Linked DNA regions of Homo sapiens: regions 1 and 3 are each linked to region 2. The links are contacts of gene promoters, found by promoter capture Hi-C in human tissues and cell types (Jung and others, 2019). All regions are on one chromosome and are shown on one strand. The core of a region is centred on a gene start or on the middle of the fragment in contact, and the rest is flanking DNA. Distances in the headings are between cores, read along the strand shown.

Region 1 (2,700 bases), core at 57-2,556, 130 kb after region 2:
CTCGGGTGGGGGAGTTCCCGGGCACTCCCAGATGTGCCTGCTGGGAACATTTTTGGTGTGCGTTGAAACATTGGGATTTGGTTGCATTTCATCGTCCTCTGTTTCCTACTACATTTTTGGTGAGTGCTTTTGAAATTTTTCTCCCTTTCGCTTTTCTTCCTGTGTTTGCCACTATGAAGTAGACCTGTTGAATGCACTGTGTCCTGCAGAGGGGATGCCCTGCCCCCGGCGTGTGCACATTCCTACCTGTTAGTGAGGTTTAGTGCCCACTTCACTGGGAACATGAAGTGCCAGGGGATGCTGATGCTGCAGTCCCAAAAGGCCACACCCTGAGTGGAGAGGCCCCTCTAGCAGGAAGCACAGTGAGTTTGGCTGGGGGAACCCCACAGGCATGTAATCCAAGGGGCTTGGATGTAATGCCCAGCTTCATCATTTCCTTGTGGCTCTGAGCATTTGTTTACCTGCCTGAGGCCCATCCTTTATCTGTAAGATGCCGGTAATGGTGTCTCTCTGGGAAGGTGGCCTGGTCGTGATGATTACCTGGGAACTGTGAAGTAGAGAAAGTCTGGCAGATTCTATCGTCGGCACATGAAATTCTTATTTTCTCTGCCCATCGACTTAGACACACTGCTGTGAAGCACCAGCTCATTGTGAAAAGCCTGTTTTCTCTGAGCTCTGCTAGTGGAGGTAGAAGCAGGCTGACTCTGAGCACAGGCATGGAAGAACAGCAACAAACTGCAAGGATCTTAGAGGAACCGCTGGTGAATCCGGCAGAGATTGTGTATTTCAGAGAAATTTAGGAGATTGAGATGCCTTGGGCATTTGGAGCTCTGGGGGCACCTTCCCTGACGCCCCAGCCTAACTAAATGTAATCCTGTTTATTCATTGTCACCTTGGGAATGTGGGCCTCCTTATTCCTTCCCGTCTTTTCATTATGAGAGTTTTCAAATATGCACAAAAGTTGAAAGATAATACTGCAAACACACACATAAACTCTCCACCCAGATTCAGCGGTTGTTGATAGTATGCTGTTTCTTGCCCCCACTTCCTCTCTGCTCCTTAAATCCATATTTTATAAAAATTTGTTGCTGAGGCTGGGCACGGTGGCTCATGCCTGTAATCCCAGCACTTGGGGAGGCTGAGGCAGGTGGATCATGAGGTCAGGAGTTTGAAAAAAAAAAATCAGCTGGCGTGGTGGCATGCGCCGGCAATCCCAGCTACTTGGGAGGCTGAGGCAGGAGAATTGCTTGAACCTAGGAGGTGGAGGTTGCAGTGGGCCGAGATCATGTCACTCCAGCCTGGGCGAGAGAGCAAGATTCCGTCTTGAAAAAAAAAAAAAGTGTTGCTGAACAGTTTGAAAATAAGTTGTTGACATCATGACATGCCCCTGCCCCAAATATGTGAGCATCCATCTCCTCTAAGAAAAACTGTCATTCTCCATAATGGCAGCACCATTCTTACATGGAACAAAATTAACAGCAGTCCCATGATATCGTCTAATGGTTACTTGATATTCACCTTTCTCCAGTTCTCTTCAGAATGTGTTTAATAGCTTCTCTCTCTGCAAACCTGGATCTGCTTGTTATAACTGCTTAGACTCTTTAATCTAAAATAGCCCTTCCTTTTTGTTCTTACCTTTGTGACATTAACTGTTAGAAGAGGAAAAGCTAGTTATCTTCCAGAATGTCGCACCTTTGAATTAGTGTGACTGTTCCCTCCGGTGATGTTTCTTACTGTCTCCCTTACTGTCTTTCTCTGCCCTTGTGTTTGCTGTCAGACTGGATGTCTCTGCGTCTGTGGCCAGAAGACTTATTGGAGAAGCTGTGCACGTCTGGCTGCATCACACGTAGGGGTCAGTGGTCCCACTGTGTCAGAGATGCTAAATCCGACCACCTGGTGAAAGTGGTGGCTGCCCCCTTCTCCCACTCCTCTGAAAAGCCATGTTGTATTTCTGCCTGTCCTGAGTATGAAATCTGTAGGACGATACTTGGACATTCTGTATCTATCTTGTTCCCCAAACAGCCTTCTGCTCAGTGGTTTTCGCATCCAGTGAGTCTTGCCTGAATCAGGAATTTTATGGCAGGTTGCAAAATGACAATTTTCTAATTTTGCCATTTCTACTGAAAAGAAAAGCCTCCTCTGCTTTTGAGAATCATTGATGGCTGATGATATTTTTAAAAACTCAGTGTATTACAGAATCATTTTTGTTCTTCCTGATGCTCAAATTCAGTCTATGGGAGCCCTGGAAGCAGGTGCCTTTGTTCTTTTAGTTTTTGAGTCTTTCTTCCAATCTGGCACAGTGAGGTACCCCAGCTCACCTTGTATTATACATCCACATCGTCCAGAGTGAAGATGAACTGTTTTTCCAAGGAACTCTGATCCTTGGTGGTGGTGTGTAAACACCAATGCATGGATGCTGGTGTGCTCAGGGACCCTGAGTGGCCACTGCCTCCAGGCCCTTCAGTAACCAGCTCCAGGAGAAAACATGTTTTAAAAATCTTGACTTTGTATAGCTGGTTCCAGTTCAAATTTCATATTCAAATGTTGGCCTCTTTACATTTCCATCACTTCATGGATTTCTCTCATCCCGATTTGGGTCAACTGCCGTGTTTACAATTTGTTTTGAAGCGCCTTTTTTTCTAGCCTTTTCTTGGTTTTTGTTTAACTGTGAGGCTTTTTTGTATATATATATTTTAGCTG
Region 2 (2,700 bases), core at 189-2,688:
TGAGGGAGGGGTTTTCCAGGGCAGGTTCAAGACCCTTCTCTGCAGCCCCTGTTGGGTTTTCCCTAGATCCAGAAGAGAGGGGTGTGGAACTAAGTGCTTCAGCACCTACTCTTAAAACATTACTCTAAAAGCATCCTTAAGGATTCTAAGGGAAGCTAAAGGGAGGAAAACCCCAAAGATAAACCCCTGGCAGTCCTCTAACCACTGGGGAGAGCAGCCCCCCCGTTCAGACCCGCACCAGCCTGGGCAGAGGAACAGCCTGAGCCCGTCTAAGAAGTTTGGTAATAATTTTGCCATCCAGTTGAGGAGGGGCTAGGATCTTCTCCCATTCTCCTACTGGATTTACAGCAGCTCCTGGGAATGAGAACTGCGTGAGATATTTCCCTACACAAATTGGGTAGAGATAGCCGGACGCCTAAATACTTTTAACAGAGGTAACAAGCTAGAGCTGGCTTAGTCATTTTGTCCGCAGACCATAGCAAGAGAGTTTTTATTTCTGGCCACGTCTGAGGCCTCACGTCTGGCACCCAAGGCCAGGGCTCTCCCTAATGCCCTCCAATTAACAGAGCTTGGTACTCCAGCAAAAACACCAAACAAACTGCTGGATAATCAGTTAAAAGATCAATCTCATGGAACAAGCAACTGAGATGCTGGAGAATCCAATTCCTTCCTCTAAGAGGAAAAACAAAGACATTTGCATGTGCTGAGCAAAACCAAGAATAAGCAAGAAAACATGCTATTTGAATTCCGTTCAAAATGTCTCTAATAAGTGAAGCAAATTCTGCACATTCTGGGCCTCTGCAGAGAACAAATAGTGTTCTGCCTTTAATGGGTAAAATTATACAATTTGCTTTTAACAGTAAACCAAAAGCCGCGGTGGCTTCGGATAGCATCGCGCTCCCGAGGGCTCCCTCCACGCAGCTCGACCCCTGGCAGTTTTGAGCATTTCGGGGGACGCGCTTGTCCCCACCGACCTGGGAGGGCGCCGGTGCCAAGGCGGCCTGTTTGTTTTCCTGAACATTTCCTTTTGCAACTTTCGCTTCTCCTCTTCCTGCCTCACCGCTGGTGTCTGGGGCTGGGTGGCTCTCAGATTTGTCCCGGTGCGCAGTGCAGCCTGGAGTTACTGATTTGTGACCTAGATCCCCGGGTGTGTCGCCCCCGAAAGTCGGGGGCACCCGCTCTGGGCGCCTCTCCTGCGTGGGCAGACCCGCCGAACTCCGGCTGACGCCCCCAAGGCGCCACCTTTGTGTTCAAGCGTTCCGAGGCGCAGGCCCGAGGGCGGGCGCAGGAGGCAGGTCCGGGGCCCCAGCTGCAGCCCCAGCTCCTTGGGTCCCGCCCGCCGCCCGCGCGTTCCCCCGGCAGGGGGCGCCGGCGCAAGCCTCGCTCTGCCCATCGGGGCGGGCGAGCGGGGACCCTGCCTCCTGCGCGCTCGCCCGCGGTCCGCCCCCCGCGCTCGTCCTGGCGGCCGGCGGGACGCCCCAGCCCGCGCCAAGGAACCTCCCCAGCCAGCCCTTGCCGTGGCCGGAGCCGAGCGGCGCATCCGGGCCGGAGAAGAGGACGACGACGAGGTCCTCGAAGTGGACCCGTTTGCGAAGCGCCAGGGAGAAGGAGGAGCGGACGCATCGTAGAAAGGGGTGGTGGCGCCCGACCCCGCGCCCCGGCCCGAAGCTCTGAGGGCTTCCCGGCCCCCACTGCCTGCGGCATGGCCCGGGGCTCGGCGCTCCCGCGGCGGCCGCTGCTGTGCATCCCGGCCGTCTGGGCGGCCGCCGCGCTTCTGCTCTCAGTGTCCCGGACTTCAGGTAGGATCTGGCGTTCCGGCTTGTGCGCAGACGGTAGCTCACGGCTCGCTTGGCCAGCCCTTCCGCCGCCACTATGCTCCCGGCCGCTGCGCCGGCGCCCATGCTCCTGAACGAGGGGCGCCAGGCAGGGCCATTCGCATCTCGCCCGACGCCGCTCCCGGCCCGCACCCCGGACCCCCTCGGGCTGGTTACAATAAGCCGCGCTCTGGGGACGCCTAAGTGTTTCCAGAGTCTGGGGGCGGGCGGCGGCGGCTGGGAGCCTCTCGGTGGCGCTTCCCGAGGGTCGCGAGTGGGAGTGCGAGTGTGAATGTGAGTACCCGCCCTGGGCCCGGGACCCGAGTCCGCAGATGTGCCCCGAGGGTCCCAGGACCCGGGCTTCCTCCCCGAGGTCTTCCTCCTTCAAGGGCACACGGCCCCGAGTGTCCCCCGTCTGTCTCGGAGCGTCCCCCCACCCCCAGGGCGGCCTGATGCCTGGCAGAATCCTGGGGTGGACGTGGCCCCGGAGAAGCGGCTCTTGCGGCGGGGGTGGGGGCGCCGGCGGCTCCCGGGTCCTGACTTTCCCAGCCCGCGGGCCGCTTGATGGAAACGGGCTCTTTGGCATCCCTTTTGTTGGTCCCTGAAACCTCCTCTCCCCCACCGCTCTGGGGTGGCCGAAGTGGTGTGTGATCTGGATTGAAATGGTTTGTGACTGGGATCGCGGGTCCCTGAGCGGCTGGGGCGCGGCCGCCTTCTGGCCGCGCCGGGGGGACCCCCGGGACCTGTAGGAGGCTGGCGGCGGGAGGGGCGGGGCCCGGCTCCTAGGTGGGTTTCCTCCCGGGGCCCCACTTCCCCCGAGTCCCTGCGCGGTTTCGGCTGCTTGGATCCGGGGCGCAGAGGAACGGCGGGGAGGTTCGGAAGTGCA
Region 3 (2,700 bases), core at 201-2,700, 130 kb before region 2:
CAAGAGGGGTGGTGTCTGAAATAAGGTTGGGACCCAGCAGAAAGGTGCGGCCGTGTAAGAGTTCAAATGGACTGTACCCGGTGGGTTCCCAGGGTGTGGCTCGAATTCGGAGGAGTGCAAGGGGTAGGAGAGTGGTCCAGTCTTTTTTAAGCTGGAGGGTAAGTTTAGTAAGGTGTGTTTTTAAAAGGTCCTTGGCTTTTTCTACTTTTCCAGAGAACTGAGGGTGATATGGGGCATGAAGATTCCATTGAATACCGAGGGCTTGGGAAACTGCTTGAGTGATTTGGCTGATGAAGACCAGCCCATTATCAGACTGTATGGAAGTAGGGAGACCAAACCGGGGAATTATGTCTGTTAGAAGAAGGAAATAACTGCAGTGGCCTTTTCAGCCTTCAGACCCCGTGGGAAAAGCCTCAACCCATCTGATGAAGGTGTCGACCCAAACCAGGAGGTATTTGAGTTTCCAGACACGGGGCATAAGAGTAGAGTCAATTTGCCAATCTTGAGCAGGGATAAATTGTCGTGCTTGATGCATAAGGAAAGGAGGAGGTTTAAGAAAGCCTTGATGGGGTAGTAGAGTGGCATTATAGCCCATTGAGAGGTGATTGTTTTGAGGATGGATTTCCAGGCTGGAAAAGAAATGAGAGGTTCTAAAAGGTGGGTTAAAGATTTATATCCTACATGGAAGTGGTCATCAAAGGAGGAGAGGATAGAGTAAGCTTGAGAGGCAGGGAGAAGGAGCTTTCCATGATCTAAAAACCAGTTGCCTTGAGTGGGAAGTGACTGGTAGTTTAAGGTTTCAGAAGGAGAGTAATAGGAGTGATAGATGAGAAGGAGAAATATTGGCCACTGGGAGCAGATACTGGGGAGTTTGCTGTTTCTTTGGCTGTTTTATTGGCATAGGTGTTTCCTTGGGCAATGGGATCAGAGGTTTTTTGGTGTCCTTTGCAGTGGATTACTCTGGCTTTGGCTGGAAGGAGGGCAGCTTTAAGGAGGGCTTTATTAAGGGGGCATTGATAATAGAGGATCCTTGTGTAGTGAGAAAACCTCTTTCTGCCCAGTTGACAGGGTGGCGGTGGAGGATGTGAAGGGCGTATTTAGAGTCAATTAGATATTAACATGCAGTCCTTTGCCAAGAGTTAGGGCATGAGTTAGTGCTATTAATTCAGCTTGTTGAGAGGTTGTAAATGGGGAGAGTGCAGCAGTTTCAGTGATAGATGAGTGAGACACAATGGCCTATCCAGCTTTTCCTGGTGTTAATCAACTGGTTTTTGAAGAACTGCCATCAATAAACCAAGTGTGGTCTGGGTCAGGGACAGGAAAAAGGGAAATATGGGGAAAAGGAGAGGAGGCTATGTGGATTAAGGAAATACAGTTGTGTGGATTAGGATTTGTAGTGGGTAGTAAGTGAGAGGCCGGGTTGAAGTCCTGTCCAAAGGCAATGGTCCCCATGAGATTTTCAATAAAGAGTGAATAGAGCTGGAGGAGGTGGGGAGCCGAGAGTATGTTTTATATGTGAAGAGGAAACTAAGTCTTGGAGGTTGTGAGTGCTATAAAAGGTGAGTGGGGCATAGCCTGTGATTTTGAGAGACTCTAAGAGTATAAGGGCTGTGGCTGCTGTGGCATGCAGGCATGACGGCCAGCCCAGGACTGTAAGATTAAGCTGTTTGAATACAAAGGCTACTGGTCACAGGCCTGGTTCCTGAGTAAGAATTCCTACAGCGCAGCCCTGCGTTTTTGCTGTGTGGAGAGGAAGGAGGGTTGGGAGGAGTCGGGAAGCGCTTGAGTAGGGGTTGCCTCTAGGGCCTTTTTTAGAGTAAAAGGAGGGGCGAGGGAAGGATTTAGGATCTGTGGGTTCAGCTAAGTTTCCTTTTGTGAGTTTATAGAGTGGTTTGGTTAGGATGGCAAAACCTGGTATCCAAAGGCAGAAGTATCCAACAACGTCTAAGAAGGAGAGGAGTAGTTGTTTGGTGGTGGGGATTGGAATTTGGAGATTAGCTGAATACGGTCTGCTGGAAGTGCACACCTATGTTGGTGGAGGATTATACCAAGATAAGTAGAAATTTGAGCTTTGGAGGGGGATACTCTGTACCCCTTGGAGTAGAGGTGTTGAAGAAGCAGGATAGTGTCTTGCTGGGAGGATTGGTAAGAGGGGCTGCAAAGAAGAAGGTCATCCACATATTGAATGAGATGGGAAACAAATGGACGAAAAGAAAGCAGGTCACGGGAGAGGGCCTGGCTAAAGTAGTGTGGGCTGTCTCTGAAACCTTAGGGCAGGACGGTCCAGGTGAGTTGTTGGGACTGGTGGGTGTCAGGGTCAGTCCAAGTAAAGGCAAAAAGGGGCTGGGAAGAGGGATGTAAGGGGATGGTAAAGAAGGCATCTTTGAGGTCAATAACAGAATAATGAGTTGTGGAAGGCGGTATTGAGGATAGGAGAGTATAAGGGTTAGGCATGACAGGATGAATGGGGAGGACAATCTGATTGATGAAACGAAGGTCTTGGACTAGCCTGTAGGATTTATCTGGTTTTTGAATAGGTAGGATGGGAGAGTTGTAAGGGGAGTTGGTAGGGACTAAGAGGCCATGCTGTAGTAGACAGGTAATAACAGGCTTTAGGCCCCTTAAAGTCTGTTGTGGGATGGGGTATTGGCATTGAGCAGGATAAGGGTGGCCATGTTTCAATGGGATGATAAGGGGTGA

What was found. The method cuts DNA at HindIII sites, captures the fragments that hold promoters and counts their contacts. A contact is called where the count stands out against the background at its distance.
Region 1: a contact is called between a fragment that was not itself captured here and the fragment with the promoter of ROR2 in region 2, in 4 of the 25 tissues and cell types used here (IMR-90 fibroblasts, heart left ventricle, lymphoblastoid cells and 1 more).
Region 3: a fragment that was not itself captured here is called in contact with the fragment with the promoter of ROR2 in region 2 in 3 of the 25 tissues and cell types used here (IMR-90 fibroblasts, bladder and mesenchymal stem cells).

The regions. Positions count from the first base shown.
Region 1 is chr9:91,821,978-91,824,677 of GRCh38, reverse strand. The region is part of intron 1 of ROR2 (receptor tyrosine kinase like orphan receptor 2); the gene reads left to right. Among named protein-coding and RNA genes, the nearest start is that of ROR2, 130 kb to the left of the region's middle. The HindIII fragment of the contact is 4,420 bases long and covers 1-2,700 here.
Region 2 is chr9:91,948,966-91,951,665 of GRCh38, reverse strand. It overlaps ROR2 (receptor tyrosine kinase like orphan receptor 2), which reads left to right and starts at 1,438. Exons shown (of 9, transcript NM_004560.4): 1 at 1,438-1,799. The coding sequence starts at 1,703. RefSeq lists silencers at 865-1,159, 1,273-1,452 and enhancers at 1,646-2,145, 2,146-2,647. The HindIII fragment of the contact is 10,523 bases long and covers 1-2,700 here.
Region 3 is chr9:92,074,549-92,077,248 of GRCh38, reverse strand. The region is part of intron 5 of SPTLC1 (serine palmitoyltransferase long chain base subunit 1); the gene reads left to right. Among named protein-coding and RNA genes, the nearest start is that of SPTLC1, 40 kb to the left of the region's middle. The HindIII fragment of the contact is 3,187 bases long and covers 1-2,700 here.